4 separate regions of the Homo sapiens genome follow, and all the other regions are linked to region 2. The links are contacts of gene promoters, found by promoter capture Hi-C in blood cells and fetal thymus (Javierre and others, 2016). All regions are on one chromosome and are shown on one strand. The core of a region is centred on a gene start or on the middle of the fragment in contact, and the rest is flanking DNA. Distances in the headings are between cores, read along the strand shown.

The links. The method cuts DNA at HindIII sites, captures the fragments that hold promoters and counts their contacts. A CHiCAGO score of 5 or more calls a contact.
Region 1: a contact is called between a fragment that was not itself captured here and the fragment with the promoter of CYP2F1 in region 2, in 1 of 17 cell types (naive CD8 T cells). The highest score is 5.0, in naive CD8 T cells.
Region 3: a fragment that was not itself captured here is called in contact with the fragment with the promoter of CYP2F1 in region 2 in 9 of 17 cell types (naive CD8 T cells, naive CD4 T cells, total CD4 T cells and 6 more); the score reaches 12.9 in naive CD8 T cells.
Region 4: a fragment that was not itself captured here is called in contact with the fragment with the promoter of CYP2F1 in region 2 in 3 of 17 cell types (neutrophils, naive CD4 T cells and naive CD8 T cells); the score reaches 6.0 in neutrophils.

Annotation. Positions count from the first base shown.
Region 1 is chr19:40,730,105-40,736,715 of GRCh38, reverse strand. It overlaps ITPKC (inositol-trisphosphate 3-kinase C), which reads right to left. Exons shown (of 7, transcript NM_025194.3): 4 at 3,352-3,556. Among named protein-coding and RNA genes, the nearest start is that of ITPKC, 16 kb to the right of the region's middle. The HindIII fragment of the contact is 1,365 bases long and covers 2,524-3,888 here.
Region 2 is chr19:41,109,180-41,116,147 of GRCh38, reverse strand. It overlaps CYP2F1 (cytochrome P450 family 2 subfamily F member 1), which reads right to left and starts at 1,716. Exons shown (of 10, transcript NM_000774.5): 1 at 1,656-1,716. The HindIII fragment of the contact is 5,953 bases long and covers 1-1,922 here.
Region 3 is chr19:40,661,744-40,668,038 of GRCh38, reverse strand. It overlaps NUMBL (NUMB like endocytic adaptor protein), which reads left to right. Exons shown (of 10, transcript NM_004756.5): 10 at 1-2,134. The coding sequence ends at 571. Among named protein-coding and RNA genes, the nearest start is that of NUMBL, 26 kb to the left of the region's middle. RefSeq lists a silencer at 4,842-5,121. The HindIII fragment of the contact is 3,870 bases long and covers 3,065-6,295 here.
Region 4 is chr19:40,636,485-40,643,102 of GRCh38, reverse strand. No RefSeq gene overlaps it. Among named protein-coding and RNA genes, the nearest start is that of LTBP4, 38 kb to the right of the region's middle. RefSeq lists a silencer at 6,089-6,210. The HindIII fragment of the contact is 1,460 bases long and covers 4,337-5,796 here.

The DNA of each region.
Region 1 (6,611 bases), core at 1,957-4,456, 380 kb after region 2:
CTGGCCAACACGGTGAAACCCCGTTTCTACTAAAAATACAAAAAATTAGCCAAGTGTGGTGGCGGGCGCCTGTAATCCCAGCTACTCGGGAGGCTGAGGCAGGAAAATCGCTTAAACCCGGGAGGCAGAGGTTGCAGTGAGCATTGATTGCACCACTACATTCGAGCCTGGGTGACAGAACAAGACTCTGTCTCAAAAAAAACAACTTCCCAGGGCCACCCACCTGCCTGCACACTTGCTGCCAGAGGAGGAAGCCAGCTTACCTGCCCAGCCCAGCTCAACCCAGCCCCAGGTCACATGCCTGAGCCCCAGTCCTTCCACACCCTTCCAACCTTGAACCTCCTGGTTGAACCCATCTAGGAAAGTGGGCTTTGGAGCAGGGTGGAGCTGGCTGTGAATCGTGACTCTGCTCTTTTCTTTTTTTTTTTGACAGAGTCTCACTCTGTCACCCAGGCTGGAGTGCAGTGGTGCAACCTGGGCTCACTGCAAGCTCCGCCCCCTGGGTTCATGCCATTCTCCTGCCTCAGCCTCCTGATAGCTGGGACTACAGGCTCCCGCCACCACGCCTGGCTAATTTTTTGTATTTTTAGTAGCAACGGGGTTTCACCATGTTAGCCAGGATGGTCTCGATCTCCTGACCTCATGCTCCGCCCGCCTTGGCCTCCCAAAGTGCTAGGATTACTGGCGTGAGCCACTGCACCTGGCCATCTCTGCTCTTTTCTAGCTGGGCAGTCTTAAGTCATTTCAGCTGCCTCAGCCTCAGTTTCCTCATCTGGAAAACGGGAATTGTGTTGGTGTCTACTTGCTAAGGCTGGTGTAAGGATTAGAGGAAACCAGGTGTGTAGGATGCACAGCACAGTGCCTGGCATATAGTTATTTGAGACTAATGAGACTAATGTTATCTGTTATGTTTCAGTAGGGCTCAGAGAACCCACCTAAGTCATCTGCCACACTGTGCCAGGTGCTATGTGGGCACTTGGCAATAGGGAGTAACACGACAGACACAGTCAGATGAGGGGGCAGACACTGATTAAGATGATCAGAAAGGAAGATAAGAATAATGAAAGAGTATAAGGAGCTATGAGGAGGTGAAGAGGGGACCCTGATCAGTAGAACAGAAATCAGGGAGGGCTTCCCTGAGGAAGCAAAATTTGAAAGGAGACAGAAAAATGACTGAGAATCAACCAGACCAGGGGGCACAGACGGAAGAGACCAGGGTGTGGTGGCACGCACCTGTGTCCCAGCTACTCAAAAGACTGAGGTGGGGGGATCACTTGAGTTTAGGAGATTGAGGCTGCAGTGAGCTGTGATCGCGCCACTGTACTCCAGCCTGGGGGATGACAGAGTGAGACCCTGTCTCAAAAAAAAAAAAAATAGAAGAGCATTCCTGGCAGAGGGGTGCAGAGGCCTTGTGGCAGGAAAAAGCAAGCCTATTTCAAGTAAATGCAAGTGCTTCACTGTGCCTGAAGGTACACAGAAAGAATGAGAGGAATGAGAGGTTGGGCGTGGTGGCTCACGCCTATAATCCCTGCACTTTGGGAGGCTAAGTCAGGCAGATCACTTGAGGCCAGGAGTTCAAGATCAGCCTGGTCAACATAGTGAAACCCCGCCTCTCTTAAAAATACAAACATTAGGCCGGGCACAGTGGCTCACGCCTGTAATCATCCCAGCACTTTGTGAGGCCAAGGCGGGTGGATCACAAGGTCAGGAGTTCAGGACCAGCCTGGTCAATATGGTGAAACCCTGTCTCTACTAAAAATACAAAAATTAGCCAGGAGCGGTGGTGCACACCTGTAATCCCAGCTACTTGGGAGGCTGAGGCAGAAGAATCGCTTGAACCCGGGAGGCAGAGGTTTGCAGTGAGCTAAGACTGTACTACTGCACTCTAGCCTGGGCAACAGAGCGAGACTCTGTCTCAAAAAAAAAAAAAAAAACAACAATTAGCCAGGCATGGTAGTGCGTGCCAGTAATCACGTCAAGTCAGGAAGCTGAGGTGGGAGAATCGCTTGAACCCAAGAGGTGGAGGTTGCAATTAGTTGAGACTGTGCCATGGCACTCTAGCCTGGGTGACAGAGCGAGACTCTTTCTCAAAAAAAAAAGAAAAGAGAAGAATGAGAGAGAAGAGGCTAGATCCTAGAGGGCCCTACAGGCTATGGAACTTCACTTCAAGGTACTAGGGAGCCACAGAAGGGTTTCGAACAGGAGAATGGCATGGTCGGATCTGCAACAGGCATTCTCATACATTGCTGGTGGGATGTGCAGTGGCATAACACCGAGAGTGGAAGTTTGGTCATCTCTCGCAAATTTCCCATGCCTTTAAGCTTTGACCCAGGAGTCCTGCTTCTGGAAATCTACAGCTCAATCTGCATACTTGCAAAATGTCTTATATACAAAGTGATTCTTTGAGGCCTGCTAATGGCAAAAAATGGAAACAACCCAGGTGTCTGTCTATAGGGGACCAGGCACAGTCACAAAAACAGTGTTACATAGCTGTGGGGGAAAAAAAAACAGAAAGAGGAAGCTTTCTATGGAATGATGTGGAAAACTCTGCAGGGTGTTACTATTAAGTGAAAATAGCAAAGTACCAATCAGTATGCGTACTGAGGAACATTTCGGATCTACAACTCCATTTACTGGCACTAACAGGAAGAAATACAAGAAACTGACAAAGTGGTTCCCCATGAGCAGGTAGAGGGATAGAGGGACAGAATGGGAAGGACAGCAGCAGAGTTGGGAGAGAAATTTCTCCACATTTACCCTTTTATAATATTATTTTGACTTTTGAACTGTGTGACTAGCTATTCAAACAATTTTTTTTTCTTCTAGAAACAGAAGCTCCCTATGTTGGCCAGCTTAGTCCTGAACTACTCCTGGCCTCAAGCAATCCTCCTGCCTTGGCCTCCCAAAGTGCTGGGATTACAGGCATGAGCCACCATGCCTGGCCTATTCATACAATTATATTTAATTTGACAAAGAAAAAGGAATGCAAGAAAGAAAAAGAGAAACCTTCTCCATAGCTGGGGGAAAGGGATCCCTCCAGCTCTTGTGCTGCAGGGAGACCAGGGCCAGGATGCCCAGGGAGACAGAGGCAGGAGAAGATGGGGCTGGACTAGGACATGACCATGGAGAAGGAGAGGAGGAAAAGATGGACTCAGGAGATGCTCAGGCAGACGGATAAACAGAACCTGGGCTCTGATGGGTATGGAGGTAAGAAAGAGGCTGGGCTTCCCCAGCCCCAGCCTTTCATCCCACGCCGTCTCCTGCACTCTCTCGTGGCTTTCCCCAAGAAGCCCTGCCTGGGATCTGGCTATAGGCCTTCCCGGGACAGGCCAGGCGGTTCCTGGTCCTCACCTTGATGCCCTCGATCCGGAAGCCCAGGGTAGAGGTGGAGCTCATGGTTTCCCTCCACTGCATGTAGCGGGGCTTGGTGACTGCACCCTGGGCATGCTCCTCAGGGGTAGGGGCCCCAGGGTCCACAGCCACCATCTTCTCATACATGTCCTTCCGGGGACGGGGACGTTCCCGTGCCTTCACTAGCTCCTCTTCCAGATAGGTCCTGAGCACACAGAGGATGTGACAAAGGAAATTATGTAGAACAAACTGGAGGGCTTACCCTTCCTGATATTAAGACATAAAGCCACAGTGTGGCACAAGAATGGGCAAATCAATGCACAGAATACAACAGAGTCCACAAAGACACACACGTAGAGTTGTGCAGTTATGACTAGGCACTGCAATTCAGTGGGGAAAGGGAAGTCTTTTCAATAAACAGTGCTGGGTCAACAATCCATATGGAAAAAAATGAACCTGATCCCTACCTCCCACACACAGAAACATTAATTCTATCTGGAATGTAGGTCTAAATATGAAAGCTAAAACAATAAAGCTTGTAGAAGAAAACATAATATTTGCATGATCTTGGAGTAGGAAAAGATTTCTTAAACACAATGAAAAAAACTGACAAACTGGACTAAATTAAAGGTAGGGCCAGGTGCAGTGTTCACATCTGTAACCCCAACACTTTGGGAGGCCAAGGCAGGAGGTTCACTTGAGCCCAGAAAGTCAAGATCAGCCTCGGCAACATAGCGAGACCCGGTGTTAGTTACAATGTATATTGGTTTCCCTCTATGGTTCCTGGCTGGTAACTCTCATAGCCCTTGTTACAATCTTTTTTTTTTTTTTTTTTTTTTTTTTGACGCCCGCCCGAGCTAGAGTGCAATGGAATGGTGGTGATCTCGGGTCACTGCAACCTCTGCCTCGCGGATTCAAGCGATTCTCCTGCCTCAGCCTCCTGAGTAGCTGGGATTACAGGTGCCCGCCACCACACCCGGATAATTTTTTGTATTTTTAGTAGAGATGGGGTTTCACGATGTTGGCCAGGCTGGTCTCGAACTCCTGACCTCGTGATCGGCCTGCCTCTGCCTCCCATTTACAAGTGTGAGCCACTACGCCCAGCCTTTTTTTTTTTTTTTTTTTGAGATGGAGTCTTGCTCTGTCACCAAGGCTGGAGTACAGTGGCGTGATCTTGGCTCACTGCAACTTCTAGGACCTCCCGGGTTCAAGTGATCCTCCCACCTCAGCCTCCTGAGTAGCTGGAATTACAAGAGTATACCACCACACCTGGCACATTTTTGTATTTTTTTAGTAGAGTCAGAGTTTCACCATGTTGCCCAGGCTTGTCTTGAACTGGCCTCAAGTGATCTGCCTGCCTTGGCCTCCCAAAGTGCTGGGATTACAGGCATGAGCCACTGCGCCCAGCCACAATCTTTTGTTATAATTTTAGGTGTGTTAGATCTCAGAAGCTGGCTCAAGAAACCAAAATCTCTGACCTCCTCCTGCCCTCCTTTCACCTGCCCCAAGGCAGGACTCTAATCTTTCCCCACCTTCCTGACTGTGGGTCTTAGGACCCTCCCCAGAGAGGATCCCACCCTATACTCTGGGGGAAGGAATGCTGGTGTCTTAAAGCCTCCATAAAAACCCAAGGATTAGGCTGGGCATGGTGGCTCACATCTCTAATCCCAGCACTTTGGGAGGCCAAGGCGGGCGGATCAGGCCACTGCATTCCAGCCTGGGACACAGAGCAAGACTCCCTCTCAAAAAAAAAAAAAAAAAAAAAAAAACCAAGGATTGGGCTCAGGAGCTTCCAGATAGCTGACCCTGTGGAGGTTCCTGGAGCGTGGTGCGCCCAGGGAGGGCATGGAAGCTCCGTACCCCTTCCCCCATACCTTGCCCTACACTTCTCTTCATCTTTTGCAGTATCCTTTGTAGCAGTACCCAACCAGGGACTGGTTTTGTAGAAGATAATTTTTCCCACAGACTGTGAGGGGGATGGTTTCTGGATGAAACTCTTCTACCTCAGGTCATCAAGTATCAATTAGATTCTCATAGGAGCATACAATCTAGATCCCTTGCAGGCACAGTTCACAATAGGGTTCGCCCTCCAGAGAATCTCCTGCCCGCTAGTCTGACAGGAGGTGGAGTTCAAGCGGTAATGCTCGCTGGCCTCCTACGGTGGGGCCCCGTTCCTAAGAGGCCATGGACCGGTACTGGTCTGCGGCCCAGGGGTTGGGGACCCCTGCTTTATATTAAACCAGTAAAGGTAAGTAAGTATCCCCCTGAGTTATTTGAGCCACTCCAGCAAATTATTTGAACCCAAAGAGGAGGACATGGGAACTCCAACTTGGAGCCAATCAGTCAGAAGTTTCGAAGGCCTGAACTTATGACTGGTGTCTGTAACTGGGGGGCAGTCTTGGGGACTGAGTCCCCAACCTGTGGGATCTGACACTATTTCCAGGTAGATGGTTTTAGACTTGAATTGGAGGACATCCAGCTGGTGTCCGTTGCTTGGTGTGTGGGGTTAAAAAACCTAAACATTTGGTCACAGAAGTCTTCTGTGCTCTCATTGTTGTGGCAGTGGTGTGAGAACGGAAAAGCATGGATTCAGAGCTTTTCCTAAATAGCCTGTCTCTACAAAAAATTGAAAATTAGCTAGGTGTGATAGTATGCACCTACAGTCCCAGCTACTCAGGGGGCAGAAGAAGGAGGATCACTTGAGCTCAGGGGTTCAAGACCAGCCTGGGCAGTACAGGGAGACCATGTCTCTATAAAAAATAAAATATAGCCAAGCCTGGTGGGACATACCTATAGTCCCAGCTACTCTGGAGGCTAAGGTGAAAGGACCGCCTGAGCCCAGGAGTTCAAGGCTACTGTGAGCTATAATCATGCTCCTTCACTTCAGTCGGGGCAACAGAATGAGACTCTGTCTCAAAAAAGAGTAATAATACAAATACTATTTTGTTTATAAAAATATGTTTATCAAAAGACTACTAAAAGAATGAAATGGGAGAGTTGAAGACTATGTGTGTGTCTGTGTGTGTGTGTCTGTGTGTGTGTGTGTATACAGCCTCCCAGAGTGTTGGGATTATAGGTGAGAGCCACTGAACCCAGCTGGAGAAAGCAATTAGAGTTCACTTCTTGCAGACTAGGCGTGGTGGCTCACGCCTATAATCCCAGCATTCTGGGAGGCCGTAGTGGGTGGATCATCTGAGGTCAGGAGTTCCAGACCAGCCTGGCCAACATGGTGAAACCCCATCTCTACTAATAATACAAAA
Region 2 (6,968 bases), core at 467-2,966:
GGACATCGCTGATCCCTCCTTTCCATCTCCCCTGGGACTTACCTTCCCTAGGCCCTGGAAATGAAGGCAGATGGAGAGAAGGAGACAGGGAGAGGCCAGGGGATGGGGAAGGGAGGGAGAAAGGAGGAAAGAGGCAGAGATAGTCAACATATAGACAGATAAGGAGACAGAAACACAGAGACATAAATGGAGAGAGGCAAGTGATAGAGGAACAGAGACTAAGAGAGGCCAAGAGATATGCATAAAGATAATGAGAGAGACAGAAAAACAGTGAGCGATCTACATATCTACAGATGTCTGTCTACCTATCAGCCATCTATCATCTATCACTCTTTCTTTCCTTCCTTCCTTCCTTTCTTTTTCTTTCTTTCTTTTTTCTTTTTCTTTCTTTCTTTGTTTCTCATCTATTATCTAACATCTATCAACATCTATCTATCATCTATCTATCTATCTATCATCTATCATCTGTCTATCCATCATCTATCTATTCTTCTATCATCTATCATTGATCTGTCTATTATCTATCATCTATTATCTATCTATATCTATCATCTATCTACTATCTTCATAATCTATCATCTGTGTATCATCTGTCTATTATCTATCTATCATCACCTGTCTGTCAAGAGACTGTCATACAGAGACAGTGATAAAGAGAGATCAAGACACACAGGGACAGAGACAGACAAACACAGAGATAGGGAGAGCCAGAGAGCACATCACAGAAAGAGAGAGGCTGACATAGACTAGAGAAAGAAAGAGACAGAACTAGACAGACACAGAGCTAGAGAAAGACAAGGGAGATTGAGTGGAGAGACAGTGAGATGGACACTGACTGAGAGACAGAGAGGGACATGGAAGGATGGAGAGAAAAAGGGTAAGAGGGACAGAGAGAGGGAGAGACAGAGCTAGACACAGAGACTGAGGGAGACGAGAATGACAGACAGAAACAGATACACAAAGACAGAGTCACATAGACAGAGATGGAGAGAGAGAGAGAGAGAATAAGAGAGGCAGGGAATATTAGAGCCACACAAAGAGACGGGTAGGCTGCAAAGGGCAGACCAAGAGAGACTGAGGCCGGGCACGGTGGCTCACGCCTGTAATCCCAGCACTCTGGGAGGCCGAGGCAGGCGGATCACTTGAGGTCAGGAGTTTGAGACCAGCCTGGCCAACATGGTGAAACCCTGTCTCTACTAAAAACACAAAAATTAGTCAGGCGTGGTGTTAGGCACCTGTAATCCCAGCTACTCAGGAGGCTGAGGCAGGAGAATCGCTTGAACCCAGGAGGTGGAGGTTGCAGTGAGCTGAGATTGAACCACTGCACTCCAGCCTCAAAAAAAAAAAAAAAAAAAAAAAGAGAGAGAGAGAGAGAGAAAGAGACGGAGACAGAGAGGAAGGGCACAGGCAGAAACAGTGACAGGAAAAAATCAAGTGTTGCCAACCATGGGGTTGCATTGCAGAGAGAGAAGCCACCTACTTGGTGAAGCACCAGTAAAGAAATCCCAGTGCTCAGAACAGGGACATGAGAGCTCTCAGAGGAAACAGCAAAAAAGATTCCTAGCCAGTCTCAGAGACAGAGATTGGAGCTGGCGACCCACCCTCTCTTGGGAGACACCCCCTCCTTCTCTGCCTCCCTCACCGGGGCCCTTTACCTGCTGAGCTGCAGGAGACACTGGCTGGGATGCGCTAGAGCCTGCAGCTCTGGGTGTGCTTGGGGGGTGGTGGGGCAGAGGTTGTTCTTAAGTTGTTTCTGCCCACACCCTCCTCCTTAACCCCACTTTTCTTGTTCTCGCTGTGAACTTTAAATCCCTCCCATCATCTTGCCATACCTTTCCTGCGGCCCTAGGGCTCACAGCCAGCTGGAAAGGTGCCGTGGGAGGGGGCTGCGCCTGGGGGCCCTCCTGGGATGGGGCAAAGCTTTCTTTCTTTCTTTGTTTTTTTTTTTTGCTTTGCCAGTTGGAGCCTGGGCCTGGTTTTGGGGTAGTCATGGGGCTGTCGCAAAATGATGGGCCAGGGATGGGGGCTGGGTTCCTTTGGTATTTGGGGCACTTGTTTCTTTTTCTCTGGGTTCAAGTCCATTTCTGCCACTGATGGGCCGAGTGGCCCTGGCTAAGTCCCTTTCCCTCCAGAGCTGGAGTTTTCTCTTTCTCTGGAAGCCTATTTTTTCATAGTTCTCCATGCTGTTCCCTGTCTCTTGCCGTGGGTCTCTGAAATGCTCTGTGTCTTGCTTTGCTTCTGCCTCTACAGTCTCTGCCTCTGAATCTTTTTGTCTCTCTGTGTCTCTGTCTCTCCCTCCTTTGGTGTCTCTGGGTCTTCATTTCTTATGCTCTCTGGGCTTTCTCCTTCTCTCTGCTTCTCTCCCTGATCTCCCTGTAAGTCCCTCTCAGTCACTGTCTCCTGATCTCTCTGGTCTCTCACTCTCTCTATCTCTCATGTCTCCACGAGTCAGACTGCACTTGGTGGGACTGAAGCCAAGCTGAGGCTGAAGGAGTGTTTAAGAAAAGGGCAGAGCTGGAAGCCACAGGGAAAAAGCCTCTCAGACTAGAATGACACTCTCTCCCACCACTGGCTCATAAACAGCCCTCCTCCTGCCCTCCTGAGCACCCTACTAGCCATGTCTACTCTCAGCTCCTGCCTTAGAAACTCACCCTAGTAGGCCAGGCGCAGTGGCTCACGCCTGTAATCCCAGCACTTTGGGAGGCCGAGGTGGGTGGATCACCTGAGGTCAGGAGTTCAAGACCAGCCTGGCCAACATGGTGAAACCCTGTCTCTACTAATAATACAAAAATTAGCCAGGCATGGTGGCTCACGCCTGTAGTCTGAGCTACTTGGGAGGCTGGGGCAGGAGAATCGCTTGAACCCGGGAGGTGGAGGTTGCAGTGAGCTAAGAACATGCCACTGCACTCCAGCCTGGGCAACAGGGTGAGACTCGGTCTCAAAAAAAAAAAAAAAAAAAAAAGAAGAAGAAACTGGCCCTAGTTACCCACCTCCTGGCCAGGTCACAAGGGCAGAATGCAAAACCTGGAGCTGGGCCAGGGCTCTGGTGCCAGGGGCTAGGCTGGGTGGAGAGCCCCTGCGGTCAAGGGTCTGGGAGGCCAGGTGGAGGTGTGGGTACCCCCACAGGTTCGTGGGTGTGCACCAGGATTGCTGTTCTCAGAGGGGCAGAGGAGGAAGTGTTTGGAGGTCCTGGGGAATTTGACACCCTAGGTCCCAGGCATATGGTGGGGTGGAGGTGGGGCCCATGCTGTTGTTTCAGTCCTGGATAGGCCGGTTGGGGCAGGTCCTGGAAGAGGGCTGAAGGCTTGATGATGGGATTATATAGCTCTAGTTTCCCTTGGCGTCTACTCCCTACTTTTAAGGGGAGGGTGTAGTGCTGTATCCACGCCAACCCTGTAAGCAACTTATCCCTCACCCTAGAACTTGGTTAAGAGGGGCCTAATGAGGCTGGGCGTGGTGGCTCATGCCTGTAATCCCAGCACTTTGGGAGGCCGAGGTGGGTGGATCACCTGAGGTCAGGAGTTTGAGACAGCCTGACCAACATGGCAAAACCCTGTCTCTACTAAAAATACAAAAAAAATTAGCCAGGCGTGGTGGTGCTTGCCTATAATCCCAGCTACTCAGGAGGCTGAGGCAGGAGAATCACTTGAACCCGGGAGGTGGAGGTTGCAGTGAGCTGAGATTGTACCATTGCACTCCAGCCTGGGCAACAAGAGTGAAACTTTGACTCAAAAAAAAGAAAAAAAAAGAAAAAAAAGATGGGCCTAATGGGACCACCTGATTGGGGAAACTGGGATTTATGGGAAGGGCAGTTAGTTAGTTTGTTTTGACACAGGGTCTCACTCTGTCACCCAGACTGGAGTTTAGTGGTGTGATCATAGCTCATTGCAGCCTCGATCTCCTGGGCTTAAGGGATTCTCCTGCCTCAGCTTCCCAAGTAGCTGGGACTACAAGCACGCATCACCACACCTGGCTAATTTTTAAAATTTTTAGTAGAGATGAGATCTAGCATGCTATGTCACCCAGTCTGGTCCCCAACTCCTGGGCTCAAGCGATCCTCCCACCTGGGCCTCTGGGGATTACAGGCGTGAGCCACCATGTGTGGCCGAGAAGGGGGGTTTTAAGAGGCTTTGAGTTCTGTTATTCTGACTTGCTCTCCTGCTACAGAGGGAACTTGGGGCAAGGAAGGGATGTATTGCAATTTCTCAACTCACTGCTGTTGATGTCTTGGGCCTTCATGGGTGGTGGGGGCTGCATCCTGTGTGTGGTAGGATGTTTAGCAGTGTCCTTGGTTTCTACTCAGTAGATGACAGAACCCACCCACTCATTCCCTACCAGTTGTTACAAACAAACATGACTCCAGATACTATTGAATGTCCCCTTGGGAGGAAAAAAATCAACCCAGTTGAGAACCGCTGGGGTATTGCAGAAAGCTGAAACACACTCCGTGGTGGAAAAATGCCTCGCCTCTCATTGTCCTCTCTTGGAACTCCCCCCGCCCTATTCCTATCCTTTTGTTCCTGCCTCCTCAAACTCCAAAACCCTCTTCAGTCACCTCACTCTTTGTTGATGAACCCGCTTCTTATCTCACGGAGAGAATGGCAGCAATGGGCAGTAAGCGGGCGCATCCTCCATCATCCTGTCCTCTTGCCCACTGGCATCTGGACGGCACATGCAGCCTTCCTTCCTGCTAGAACCACACAGTGTCCCATGTCAGGCTTAGGTGAGCCCCCTTCTGGTGTGCCAGATCCCATTCCATCGCCAACTGGAGGACTTGATTCTATTTACTGTGTCATAGTTCCTGTGAAGGTGTGTAGATGGAGTTTTCCCTTAACGATTTCTTTAGGTAAAATTTACCTGTGATGAAATACACACATGGTAAGTGAACATTTGCTGAATTTTGAAGGTATCGAAATCCCTGTGAAGATACAGAATATTTTCATCATCCAAGAAAGTTCTCTTGGAGCTGGGCGTGGTGGTTTGTGCCTATAATCCTAGCTATAGGAGGCTGAGGTGGAAGGATCACTAGAGGCCAGAAATTTGAGACCAGGCTGTGCAACATTGCGAGACCCCTGTCTCTACTAAAAAAAAGAAAAAAACAATAGCTAAGTGTGGTGGTGCACGCTTGTAATCCCAGCTACTCAAGGGGCTGAGGTGGAAGATCACTTGCACCCAGGAGTTCCAGGCTACAGTGAGCTATGAACACACCCCTGCACTCCAGCCTGGGTGACAAAGAGAGACTCCCTTCTCTAAAGTAATAATAATAATGAAAAGAGAACCCTCCTTCCTACTCCTTCCTAGTCAACCATGCTCCATCTCTTGTGGGCAACCATTGTTCTAGGTTTTTTTCTCTTCTTTTGAGACAGGGTCTTGCTCTGTCCCCCAGGCTGGAGTGCAGTGGTGTGATCATTGTTCACTGCAACCTTGACCTCCCTGGCTCAAATGATCCCCCGGCCTCAGCCTCCTGAGTAGCTGGAAGTAGAGGCCTGTGCCATCACAACTGGCTAATTTAAAAATTTTTTGTAGAGGCAGAGGTCTCCCTATGTTGCCCAGGCTGATCTCGAACTCCTGGGCTCAAGCAATCCTTCTGCCTCAGCCTCCCAGAGTGCTGGGATTACAGGCTTGAGCCACTGCATCCAGCCCTGTTCTAGTTTTTTCTTCCCACTATTGATCTACATTTCATATAAATGAAAATCTACGGCTGGGCATGGTGGCTCACGCCTGTAATCTTAGCTTTTTGGGAGGCTGAGGCGGGTGGATCACCTGAGGTCAGGAATTTGAGACCAGCCTGGCCAACGTGGTGAACCCCTCTCTCTATGAAAAATACAAAAATTAGCTGGACTTGATGGAGGGTGCCTGTAATCCCAGCTAGTCGGGAGCCTGAGGCAGGAGAATCACTTGAACCTGGGAGGCGGAGGTGGCAGTGAGCCAAGATCATGCCACTGTACTCCAGCCTGGGCGACAGAGCGAGACTCCGTCTCAAAAAAAAAAAAAAGAAAAGAAAATCTACAGCATTTCTTCCATATACCAAGCCTGCTTCTGGGAAGCATACGTAATGCTTTTGAGAGTTAACCATGTGTTACATACATCAGAAGCTCATTCCTTTTCATTGCAGAGTAGCATGTCACCGCATATAGATGTGCCACAATTTGCTTTTCACCAGTTGATGGAAATGTGGATTGTTCCCAAGGTCTGGCTATTTTGAATAATATGTATTATTCTTGGCATATATGCATATGTCTTTGTGGGGATCTATGTTTCGTGTATCTGGATATATCTGTGAGTGTGACTGCTGGGTTCTATGATGAGTGTATATTTATAAGAAACTTCCAAACTCTTTTCCAAAGTGGCTGTGTCATGTTTTCATTTCCTGTGTGATTTGTTTTCTTCTCTCTATTGAATATTTTTCATAAAGAGCCAATAAGCTGGCCGGGCATGGTGGCTCATGCCTGTAATTCGGCACTTTGGGAGGCTGAGATGGGCAGATCAATAGAGATCAGGAGTTCAAGACCAGCCTGGCCAACATGGTAAAACCCCGACTCTACTAAAAATACAAAAATAGCTTGGCATGGTGGTGTGTGCCTGTAGTCCCAGCTACTCAGGAGGCTGAGGCAGGAGAATTGCTTGAACCCGGGAGGCAGAGGTCGCAGTGAGCCGAGATCACACCACTGCACTCCAGCCTGGGCAACAGAGGGAGACTCTGTCTCAAAAAACAAAACAAAACAAACAAACAAAAAACCCCAATAAGCTGTATTTCTCCCATCTTAAAAAGACCCTTTTATGAAAAGATGTTCAAAATCACTAGCCATCTAGGGAAATAAAAATCAAAAGCAAGAGATATAACTTCGTGTTCATTAGGATGGCTATTAAAAAACACGCACCAGAAATGGTATAATGGTAGGTATTGCCCCTTCCTTCCTTCCTTCCTTCCTTCCTTCCTTCCTTCCTTCCTTCCTTCCTTCCTTCCT
Region 3 (6,295 bases), core at 3,750-6,249, 450 kb after region 2:
GTCACAGGTGGCCAAGGCCCAGCAGCAGCAGCAGCAGCAACAGCAACAGCAGCAGCAGCAGCAGCAGCAACAGCAGCAAGCAGCCTCAGTGGCCCCAGTGCCCACCATGCCTCCTGCCCTGCAGCCTTTCCCCGCCCCCGTGGGGCCCTTTGACGCTGCACCTGCCCAAGTGGCCGTGTTCCTGCCACCCCCACACATGCAGCCCCCTTTTGTGCCCGCCTACCCGGGCTTGGGCTACCCACCGATGCCCCGGGTGCCCGTGGTGGGCATCACACCCTCACAGATGGTGGCAAACGCCTTCTGCTCAGCCGCCCAGCTCCAGCCTCAGCCTGCCACTCTGCTTGGGAAAGCTGGGGCCTTCCCGCCCCCTGCCATACCCAGTGCCCCTGGGAGCCAGGCCCGCCCTCGCCCCAATGGGGCCCCCTGGCCCCCTGAGCCAGCGCCTGCCCCAGCTCCAGAGTTGGACCCCTTTGAGGCCCAGTGGGCGGCATTAGAAGGCAAAGCCACTGTAGAGAAACCCTCCAACCCCTTTTCTGGCGACCTGCAAAAGACATTCGAGATTGAACTGTAGCCCGAGCCGCCCCACCCACTCCATCATCTCCAGGTGCCCCACGCCTGGGGGTGGAGGCACAACCTCTCCCCTAACCCTGCTCCCTGGGGCTGCGCCCCTCAACACCCTCTCAACACCCCCCTCCCTCAACCACCCCGACAACCACTACAGAACCAACATTGTGACGCCCAGGTTGCAACAGGATGGAATTCAGGGACGGACCCAGCCTGGCTAAGGGAACCATTTCACTGCCGGACTTAGGCTGGCAATGCCCCCTTCCCCAACCCCAGACACAGGGGTTGGCCACAATCCCACTGAATGCCCTTGGTTCACACTCCATTTCCCAGTTTCTGTTGACCCCCACCTTCCAGTGTTGGACAGGATGGAGGGGGGACACTTGCTTAGGGGCTCTCCTGGGCCCCACACCAGTGCCCACCCCAAATCTGGTCGTCTCCTCCCCCCATGCACAGCACAAGCTAAGGGCTGCCCTCTGCCCACACGCTGCGTTCACTGCCAATGCTGTACTCACCTCCATCACCCTCCAACTTTGGGGCCCATGTCTTCCTTGGGCCAAGGTCTCATGGGGGCTAGGGCCAAGTTGGGGGCCCAGGAGGCGGGGAGGGAGGAGGAGGAGAAGATGCGCAGTTACCTCATGTCGGTGCCCGCTGGGGAGGGGTCCGGGAAGAAGGGGAAGGGGTGCCTGGCGGGTACTTTTCTATCTTTTATTTCCAGATTTTTTTTGTATCTAAACTTGAAGATTTGTATTATACAAGGACAGCCAATAAAGGAAGAATATAATGGTGCCCCTCGGGAAACGAGGGTGTGTGTAGGGCGCTGGTGAGGCCCTAGAACCTTTCCTCCTGAGTCATGGACTGAAACAGAGTCAGAAGGATGTCCCTGAGTGATAACCTCTGAGTCATAGCGTGGTAACAGGTACCACTGACTCAGCACCTGCCAGGCGGGTATTAAAGGAGCCAAAATTAATCACCCCATTTCTATTCCTTACAGAGTTAGAATCAAGGAATAAAAAACAAATATTATGAACTGCTGGCTGGGCACAGTGGCTCACGCCTGTAATCCCAGCACTTTGGGAGGTCGAGGCAGGCAGATCACTTAAGGTCAGGAGTTCGAGACCAGCCTGGCCGCCATGGAGAAACCCAGTCTCTACCAAAAATTCAAAAATTAGCCGGGCGTGGTGGCAGGCGCCTGTAATTCCAGGAGGCTGAGGCACAAGAATCGCTTGAACCCAGGCAGCAGAGGTTGCAGTGACCTGAGGTCACACCATTGCACTCCTGCCTGGGCAACAGAATGAGACTCTGTCTCAAAAAAAAAAAACAAAAAAAAAAAAACTACTTCTAATTAGCTCAATATTAATATTTTAACAAGTTGGGTTGGTAACAGTATATCTTTGCCCATGCTGGCAAATTCTTGTTTTGTCAGCATTTTCCATAACTCTGGCCAAAGTGTCACCTGATGTGGCAACGTTTTACAGTCTTGCTATTGTTTCTTGAGTCCTTTAATCTATAAGATGTATTTTTAAAAATATATAACATATAAATTTTGTTTCGTTATAGCTCTTTAAAATGAGGTGGTTGATTTTGTGCAGTCCAATATTCTATTCCCACTGGATAGATGGGGAAGTTGAGTCAGTGGCCCACGGTGATACATTTGATTAGTGTGGGCCAAAGTCAAAGGCAGTCGTGAAACCATCAGGCTGAGGCCGGGCACTGAGGTGGCTCTCACCTGTAAGCCCAGCACTTCGGGAGGCCAAGGTGGGAGGATCGCTTGAGCCCAGGAGTTCGAGGCCAGCCTGGGCAACATAATGAGACCCTGTCTCTACAAAATAATTTTAAAATTAGGTGGGCGTGGTGGCATACGCCTGTAGTCCCAGCTGCTGGAGAGGTTGAGGTGGGAGGATTGCTTGAGCCTGGGAGGTCCAGGCTGCAGTGGTCCGTGATGCAGTCACTGCACTCCAGCCTGTGAGGGTGACAGCGTGAGACCCTGTCTAAAAAAGCAGACAAAACAAAAGGCTGGGCGTGGTGGCTCATGCCTTTAATCCCAGCACTTTGGGAAGCCGAGGCAAGTGGATTACCTGAGGTTGGGAGTTCGAGACTAGCCTGGCCAACATGGTGAAACTCCGTCTCTACTAAAAATACAAAACTTAGCCAGGCGTGGTGGTGGGTGCCTGTAATCTCAGCTACTTGGGAAGCTGAGGCAGGACAATCGCTTGAACCTGGGAGGCCAAGGTTGCAGTGAGCCAAGATCACGCCACTGCACTCCAGCCTGGGCAACAGAGCGAGACTCTGTCTCAAAAACAAAAAAGCATCAGGCTGTGAGGGAACAAGCCTAGGGGTCTGCCCTCTATAGCGTTTCCATTACATCCCATTAACCTGCTTGTGGACTCCAGGACTAGGAGACCTAAGACAGCTCTGTCGGGGTATGACGTTGGGGGAATGTCCCAGGCAGGGAGCAGAGGACCCTGCCAGAGATAAGCCACACTCTCACCTCCAAGCTTTTGCATTTGTCATTCTTTCTGCCTAGAACACCCTTTCCTTCATGGTGACACAGCACTTCCCAGAAGAATGCTACTCATTCTTTAGGACTCCGTTCAAATACCTTTTGTTAGAAGGTGACCCTCTTCCAAGGCCCTGAGCCCCATCCTATCCTTTCATTAGGATTTATTTATTTTTTGAGACAGAGTCTCACTCTGTCGCCCAGGCTGGAGTGCAGTGGTGTGATCTCATTGCAGCCTCCACCTCCTGGGCTCAAGCGATTCTCCTGCCTCAGCCTCCCAAGTAGCTGGAACTACAGATGCCTTGCCACCACACCTAGCTAATTTTTGTATTTTTAGTAGAGACTGGGTTTCACCATGTTGGCCAGGCTGGTCTGGAACTCCTGACCTCAGCGATTTGCCCACCTCGGCTTCCCAAAGTGTTGGGATTACAGGTGTGAGCCGCCGCGCCCAGCCCAGTATTTTTGCTATTATTATTTTGGAGGCAGGGGTCTCACGCTGTCACCCGGGCTGGACTGCAGTGGGGCAATCATAGCTCATTGCAGCCTTGAATTCCTGGGCTCAACCAATCTTCCCACCTCAGCCTCCTGAGTAGCTGGGACTATAGGCGTACACCACTATGCCCAACTGATTTTTAAATTATTTTGTAGAGATGGGGGTCTCGCTATGTTGTCCAATCTGGTCTGGAACTCCTGGCCTCAAGCGATCCTCTTGTCTCTGCCTCCCAAAGTGCTGGGATAACAGGCGCCCGGCCCCATCCTACCTTTTTGGTCTAAGTTCAGACGGCTCTTCAACCCCCCCAGACTGAGTCAGCAGCACCCACTCTCCCCTTGGATCCTACAGGCCCCTCTCCTCCCCTATCCCAGCCCTGACCCATCTGCCTGTGCCTCCCCCGTCCTCTCAATGACTCATTCTGGGCTGTCACTATCTGGTGGCAGGTCTGTCTGCCTCACTGGACTGTGAGGGAGAAGGGGGTCTGGGGCGTCTCAGTCACTTCCCCGTGCCAACACAGGGCCAGGCACAGAAGAGGCAGCCTCAGTGTTTCCCCTCTGCAAACCACTAGGAAGTGAGAGGGGCAGAAACGGCCTAGGACTGGGACAGAGAGGATTTGAGCAACTGGAAGGATGGGGAACTGAGGTCAGAAGCACGCAGCAAATCTGGGACACAGTCAAGGCACCCCCACCCCGTCCCTGACTGATCTCTTCGTTCAACCACCCTTCCTTGCGCCCAGAGCAGCCTTTCTCAGAGCTGCCCCCACAACGGTTCCCGCGGATGCAGATGGAAGGGGGCCGTCCCGGGGAGGACCTCCCACAGGCTCCTCTTGGCCCATTTCCCATCTTCCCTCCCACGCCCAGGATGGAGACTCTGGCTCTCCACGGAGCTTTTCGCTCCAAAGAGGCCCTGGAACCCGGATCAACCGCCCACTCCCACTTCTCCAGGTTTCAGCCCGCTAAGAATAGACCAGGGACATCGCACTGGAAAGCCCCGCCCTACCCAGGAACCCCATCCCACACAAACGCCTATCGAGGTCATTTTGGGGGAACAGGAGGACGTCCCCCTGGGGCCGGTTCTGCACTCCTCTCTCCCGTTCTTTGGGAAGCTCCGCCCTCCGTTGCAGCCCCGCCCCTCGCGGCCGCCCCCTTTCCCGGAACCGCCCCCGGCCGCGCAGGCTATTTTGATGCATTCCACGGGTGACAGAGCCGGGCGCCCCCACCCCGCTTCCTGTTGGGTGATTTTGTTTTGTTTTGTTTTGTTTTTTAAAGCTCCACCCCCAGGAGGCCACAGTTTCTCCGGGAGCCGGCCGCGCAGGACCGGGGACAGCCCTGGCCCCTCGCTGCACAGCGCTGGGACCGCCCCACGGAGCGCGGCGTCTCATGCTCCCTGGGGCCCGCTGCTTCCACTGCCCTGCGCAGGGCCACGCGCCACCCCGGGCTGCCTGGCCGTAACCTACCCCGTCCACCCTCCAGGCGCGCTCGCCGACCTCCCGCACCTGTGGGGCCACGTGGTTGCCGGGAGCGCTCCTCTAGCGTGGTGAAGCAGCGCCCCCTCGTGGTCTTGCGCTCGCGGCGCCTGGGCGGCCGCCCCTCCAAGACTTTGCTAAGGCAGGAAAAGTGTTTAAGAAAAATTAAAATTGTGCTGGGCGCGGTGGCTCACGCCTGTAATCCCAGCACTTTGGGAGGCCGAGGCAGGTGCATTACCTGAGGTCAGGGGTTCAAGACCAGCCTGGCCAAAATGGCGAAACCCCGTCTCGACTAAAAATGCAAACATTAGCCGGACGTGGGGGCGGGCGCCTGTAGTCCCAGCTACCCGGGAGGCTGAGGCAGGAGAATCGCTTGAACCCGGTAGGTGGAGGTTGTAGTGAGCCGAAATCGAGCCACTGCACTCCAGTGATAGAGGGAGACTCGGTCTCAAAAAAAAAAAAATTGCTGTCGCATTCATGAACATTATACTTCAGGCCCTGGCTCAGCCATTCACCCCTCTGGGAAGTCCTCCCTGACTGGTCGGGCGCCTCCTTTGGGCTCCTATGGTTCCTTATGCTCCTCAACTGGGCCTGTACCTCCCCGCCCTGGCCCGGATCCGTCTGCCTGTACATCTCCCATCTGGACCTCGACCCCTTTGCCCTCTGCCTGCACCTCACCAGTCCCCGCCCCGACCCCTCTGCCTGTGCCCCCCATTCCAGCCCAACCTCTCTGCCCGGGCTTCCCCCATCCTGGCCTCCCACCCCTCTGCCTGTCCCCTCCCCACCATCCCGCCGTGATGGCTCTAGGCTGTCACTGTCTATAATGGGTCGGCGTCCCCGCCCTGCACAGAAAACCTCATGAGGGCAGGGAAGAGAGCTGTCTTGATAACTACTGAGTCCTCAGTATTACCAAGGTAACATTTATTTCCTCCCTCAACACTGGTTTTGTTTTAACAGCTTTACTGAGGTATAATCTACCTGTCATAAAATTCACCTATTATAAGTGATTTACTGATTTTGGGTGATTTTACAGTTCTGCAGCCATCACAGCCAATTCAAGAACATTTCCATCACTCTGAAAAGATCCCTTCTGCCCATTTGCAGTCGCTCCCTATTCCCTGTCCCAGCCCCAGGCAACCACTGGTCTACTTTCTGTCCCATACATATTCTCTTCTTCATTTTACAAGCATTTTCTGAATATTTATTTTTATCAGCTATTGAGGGCTGAGGGTACACAATGAAACTCACAGGCCCTGCCTTCAGGGAACTCAGA
Region 4 (6,618 bases), core at 3,817-6,316, 480 kb after region 2:
AAAAGCAATCGTGGGAGGTTGTTTAAGGCCTGAAGTTATTCAAGATTGGGCGGGAGTCCACCAGCAAAAGCCCAGGATTAGGCAGGAGGAGACCTGGGCTCCAGGCTTGCTCTTCCACTTGGGCCTTCCTCTCTCTGAGCCTCAGCTTCCCCATCTGTAAGATGGGTATGTGAAAACCCCAAGAGTTAACAAAGGCATCCAGGAAGCTCTCAACTGTGGCAGCTCTTTCTTTCTTCTACTTTTTTTTTTTTTTTTTCGAGATGGAGTTTTGTTCTTGCTGCCCAGGCTAGAGTGCAGTGTTGTGATCTCGGCTTACTGTGATCTCTGCCTCCCGGGTTCAAGCGATTCTCCTGCCTCAGCCTCCCGAGTAGCTGGGATTACAGGCATGTGCCACCACACCCGGCTAATTTTGTATTTTTAGCAGAGATGGGATTTCTCTATGTTGGTCAGACTTGTCTCGAACTCCCGACCTCAGGTGATTAGTCCACCTCGCCCTCCCAAAGTGCTGGGATTACAGGCGTGAACCACCGCGCCCGGCCCTCTTCCTTCTTTATTTACAGCTCTGAGGCCGAGTCATCCCAACCCAGGCACTAGCCCTGCACAGAGCAGCCAGCCCTCCTGGTCGCCTGCCCGCTGCTCCCCCACAGACAACCTGACAGTGTTCCGCGCTTTATTTTAAATTATTTTTTATTTTTGGAGACAGGGTCTTACTCTGCTGCCCAGGCTGGAGTGCAGTGGCATGATCACGGCTCACCTCAGATCTCCTGGGATCCAGCGATCCTCCCACCTCAGCCTCCTAAGTAGCCTTGGGAGTACAGGTGGGTGCCACCATGCCTGGCTAATTTTTAATTTTTTGTAGAGACAGGGGTCTCACTATGTTGCCCAGGCTGATCTCGAACTCCTGGGATTAAGCCAGCCTCCCACTTTGGCCTCCCAAAGTGCTGGGATTAGAGATATGAGCCACCACACCCAGCCTATGTTCTGTGTTTTCTACCTTCAATAGCACTCAAATTCTCCCCTTCCCTTGGCGGGGCGTAGTGGCTCACACCTGTAATCCCAGCACTTTGGGAGGTTGAGGTGTGCGGATCACTTGAGGCCAGGAGTTCAAGACTAGCCTGGCCAACATGGCAAAACCCTGTCTCTCCTAAAAATACAAAAAATTAGGCCAGACGTCGTGGCTCATGCCTGTAATCCCAGCACTTTGGGAGGCCGGGGCAGGTGGATCGCTTGAGGTCAGGAGTATGAGACCAGCCTGGCCAATATGGTGAAACCCCGTCTCTACCAAAAATATTAAAAATTAGCTGGGTGTGAGGGTGCGTGCCTGTAATCCCAGCTACTTGGGAGGCTGAGGCAGGAAAATCCCTTGAACTCGGGAGGCAGAGGTTGCAGTGAGCAGAGATCGTGCCATTGCACTACAGTCTTGGAGACAGACTGAAACTCTGTCTCAAAAAAATATAATAAAATAAAATTATCTCCTTCCCCAATCCACAGTCCCCAGGGCCTGCGCCTCCCAGATTCTCCATGGCCCTGTCCATCTCCGCTGCCTGGGTCCCTGCCCGGCCGGCCTCCTCCCTGGACTCCAGCCTGCCCTTATGTCTCCCATGACCCACTCCCACCCAGCCACCCACAAGCACTTTCTAAATCTGACCACAGACCCCCATGTCTCAAAGGATAACTCGAGGCCTGCCAAGCGCCTCCCTTCCCCATAGGACAAAATTATTGCCAGTAATAATCAGGAAATGAAATGAACAATATTAATAGTCAGAAAAGAAATGTAAACAGTGGAGATTTTCTTTTCTTGAACCTCATATACGTAAAGTCTGCCAGTAAAAATTAAATTTAAAAGTAAACATTACAGTACTAAAAAAAAAAAGAAAGAAAAATAGCACTACTATTTATTCAAAGTTTATTGAAAAATTCGAAGTTGGAACTTGGGTTTTTGGGTTACAGTCTGATATAAAATTGTTATGTAAATAGTTGTGAGTTTTTTTCTTCTTGAGGAGAGAGAGACTGGGAGGGAGGGAGGAAACAGGAAGAGAGACAGACAGAGAGACAGACACAGAGTGAGACACAGTTGACCCCTTCACATGGGGCCCTGGGCACTTAGAATTCACCCTGCAAAGCCCCCCCGAAGTCAGGACTTGGTGTGGGGTGTTGCAGAAATGTTTCCTCCCCCTGCCCGGGCTCCGCTGGGAAGCCACGTCCCCCACCCCTGCCCTTCCTCCCACCCACAGCCTGCCTTCTCTCTGGGGACCTCTGTGGAGCTGCCTGGAACATGCGTGGGGTGACATGCATAGCAAGCTGGGGGAAGCAACCAAGGTGGTGGCCAGGCCCCTTGAAGACATAAAAGCACATTGCATTGGGAGGGAGGGACCCCGGGGGGCTGAGAATGTCCTGTTGCTTAAACTGGATGGAGGGGACACTGGGTGGTGGGTGCAGCTCCTCGTTTTCAGCAGTGGTTTCTTGAAGTAGACCCATATTCAGGAAAGTACAAACCGTAAGTGTAACCGCTGGAGGAATTATCACCGATTGAACACACCTGTGTCACCAGCCACCAGCCCAAGAAGCAATATCTCCAGCCCCCCAGAAGCCCCCTCGGCGCTCCCTTATCACCTGCCCTCCCTCCAAGGTCATTATCACCCTCACTTCTGACAGCATAGATTGGTTGTGCCTGTTTTGAATTCATGTAAATGCAATCTGAAAATATGTTCTTTTTAGCATCTGGCTTTTTTCAGTCAGCACCGTGAAAAAAATTCATCCTGGTTGTCGTGTGCAGTTACAGGTTATTCTCATTGCAGCACACACACATTGCAGGCCACTGTGGGATCAGTTTATCCATTCTTCTGCTGGTGGTGAGGGACTGAGCCAAGGGGGCCAGGCGCGGTGGCTCACACCTGTAATCCCAGCACTTTGGGAGACTGAGGTAGATGGATCACTTGAGATCAGCAGTTCGAGACCAGCCTGGCCACATGGTGAAACCCCGTCTCTACTAATAATACAAAAATTAGCTGGGGGTGGTGGCGGGTGCCTGTAGTCCCAGCTACTCGGGAGGCTGAGGCAGGAGAATTGCCTGAACCTGAGAGGAGGAGCTTGCTGTGAGCCGAGATCGTGCCACTGCACTCCAGTCTGGGCAACAAGAGTGAAAAAACTCCGTCTCAAAAAAAAAAAAAAAGAGAAACTGAACCTAGTGGAAAGAGTCCCCTAGGCAGAGGGAACAGCCAGTGCCAAGGTCCTGGGGTGGGATGGGAACATGTCTGGATCTTAGAGAAACAACAAGGAGATCCGTGTTGCTGCAGAGGAGCGTGTGGGGGGTGGAGGGGAGGTGAGGTCAGAGAGGGAACAAGAAGCAGACGGTGCAGAGTCTGCTGGACCACAGTGAGGACTTTGGCTCTTACTTTGAATGAGATTGGCGGAACACAGTGGCTCAGGCCTGGAATCCCAGCATTTTGGGAGGCCGAGGTGGGTAGATAAGTTGAGCCCATAAGTTCAAGACCAGCTTGGGCAATAAGGGAGGCCTCGTCTCTATCAAAAAATTGGCTGGGTTGTGGTAGCCCTGGAGGCCTGGAGGATGGCTTGAGCCGAGGAAGTCTAGGCTGCAGTGAGTCATGACTTGCACCACTGCACTCCAGCCTGGGCAACAGAGTGAGACCCTGTCTCAAAAAAAAACAAAAAAAAAATGAGCAAAATAATCTTTGAGTGAGATGGAGCCACAGGAAAGTTTTGAGCAGCAGAGGGAGTTGAGTTGACTTGGTTATTCCCAGAGTCCCTCTATCTGCATGACGGGGAGAGATTGTGGGGCCAGGAGTAGGAACTCCAAACCCTAGGAGGAGGGTAAGATATGGGTGGCAGCTATGGAGGTGGTAAGAAGTATTTGGCCTCTGAATACATTTTTTCTTTGTTTGTTTTTGAGAGGGAGTCTCACTCTGTCACCCAGGCTGGAGTGCAGTGGTGCAATCTGAGCTCACTGCAACCTCCACTTCCTGGATTCAAGCAATTCTCCTACCTCAGCCTCCCAAGTAGCTGGGATTACAGGCGTGCACCACAATGCCTGGATAACTTCTTCTTCTTTTTTTTTTTTTTTTTTTTTGTATTTTTGGTAGAGATGGGGTTTCACCATGTTGGCCAGGCTAGTCTCAAACTTGTTGCCTCAAGTGATCCGTCTGCCCCAGCCTCACAAAGTGCTGGGATTACAGGTGTGAGCCACCATACCTGGCCCTGAATACATTTTTTGTGTATGTGATTAATGATGTATTTTATTTACTTCTACCATTTTGCTTTGTGATTCTAGTGTCCTCATTTTTCTACGTTTATTTATTTTTTCATGCTCATTTAAGCTTCTTTGAATTGGCTGCATTTTTTGTTTAGTTTTGTCTTATGTTTTCTTATTCTTTGTTTTCCCTCTACTAGTTTGGAATCTATGCACCATTTCTTTCTTTTTGTAGCAATCTTTGAAATTTTAACATGCTTTTTTTTTTTTTTTTTTTTTTGAGGCAGGGTCTTGCTCTGTTGCCCAGCCTGCAGTGCAGTGGTGAGATCCTAGCTCGTTGCAGGCTGGAACTCCTGGTCTCAATGGATCCTCCCTCCTCAACCCCCTGTGTAGCTGGCACTACAGGTGTACAAGACCACACCCACCTAATATTTTTATTTTTGTAGAGACAGGGTCTAGCTATGTTGTCCAGGTTGATCTCCAACTCCTGGGCTCAAGTGATCCTCCCACATTGGCCTCCCAAAGTCCTAGGATTATAGGCATGAATTACTGTGCCTGGCCATGCACATTTTTAAAAATCAGGTCTATTTCTATTGGAGGACAGAAATTTAAAAAATCAAGTCTAGGCTAGGCGCAGTGGCTCACGCCTGTTATCTCAGCACTTTGGGAGGCCGAGGAGGGCAGATCATGAGGTCAGGAGTTCGAGATCAGCCTGGCCAATATGGTGAAACCCCGTCTCTACTAAAAATACAAAAATTAGCCAGGTGTGGTGGCGCACACCTGTAGTCCCAGCTACTCAGGAGGCTGAGGCAGAAGAGTCGCTTGAACCTAGGAGGCGGAGGTTACAGTGAGCCGAGATGACGCCACTGCACTCCAGCCTGGGCGACAGAGCAACACTCTGCCTCAAAAAAAAAAAAAAGAAAAAATCAAGTTTAAAATCTAATATTTTCAACATCACACCAAACAGTACCTGGAGCACAGAGCATGTTGTTTTTGATCTCCCCAATCCTACTTATAATGATAGTGTTGTCTAAGATTTTATTTTATTTCATATTATTTTTGAGTTGGAGTCTTGCTCTGTTACCCAGGGTGGAGTGCAGTGGCGCCATCTCGGCTCACTGCAACCTCCGCTCCCCAGGTTCAAGCGATTCTCGTGCCTGAGTAGCTGAGATTACAAGCACCTCCCACCATGCCCAGCTGATTTTTGTATTTTTAGCAGAGACAGGTTTTCACCATATTGGCCGGGCTGGTCTCCAACTCCTGACCTCATGTGATCCACCTGCCTCAGCCTCCCAAAGTGCTGGGATTACAGGTGTGAGCCACCACGCCTGGCCTAAGATTTTAGATCTCTCAATTTTAGAAAGTGTTTTAACTTTTCCTTTGGAAATAATTTCAAATTTACCAAAAAGTTGCAAGACAAATAATAGGACAAAGAACTCTCTTGTATTTTATACTCAGGTTCATGGATTGGTAACATTTCTACCTCATTTCCTTTATCACTTGCTCTCTTCTCTGTTATGTATTTTCTTTTTCTGATTTTTAAAAAAATCTTTGAGGCTAAGTTACAAACAACATCACCCCTAAAAGCTTCTATAATGGGCTGGGCACGGTGGCTCATGCCTATAATCTCAGAACTTCGGAAGGCCAAGGCAGGCGAATCATCTGAGGTCAGAAGTTCGAGACCAGCCCAGCCAAGATGAAGAAACCTTGTCTCTACTAAAAATACAAAAATTACCTGGGTGTGGTGGCACACACCTGTAGTCCTGGCTACTCAGGAGGCTGAGGCAGGAGAATCACTTGAACCCGGGAGGTGAGGTTGCAGTGAACCAGGATTTCAGTGAACTGAACTGCACTCTGCACTCCAGCCTGGGCGACAGAGCAAGACTGTCTCAAACAAACAAACAAACAAACAAACAAAAACTTCTGTAATGTATCTCTTTTTCTTTTCTTTCTTTTTTTCCGTAGAGACAGGGTCTCACTCTGTCACCCAGGCTGGAGTGCAGTGGCATGATCCTGGCTCACTGCAGCCTTGACACTGCAGCCACCACACCTGGATCATTTTTAAAGTTTTTGAGAGATGGGTTCTTGCCATGTTGCCCAGGTTGGTCTTGAACTCTTGGGCTCAAGGGATCGTCCCACCTCAGTGTCCCAAAGTGCTGAGATTACAAGCATGAGGTAATGTGCTCAGCCGCCCTATGTATTTCTTAAGAATTGGGATATTTGGCCGGGAGCGGTGGCTCATGCCTGTAATCCCAACACTTTGGGAGGCCGAGGGGGGCGGATCACCTGAGGTCAGAAGTTCAAGACCAGCCTGGCTAACATGGCAAAACTCTGTCTCTACTAAAAATACAAAAAATTAGCTGGGTGTGGTGGTGGGTGCCTGTAATCCCAGCTACTCAGGAGGCTAAGGC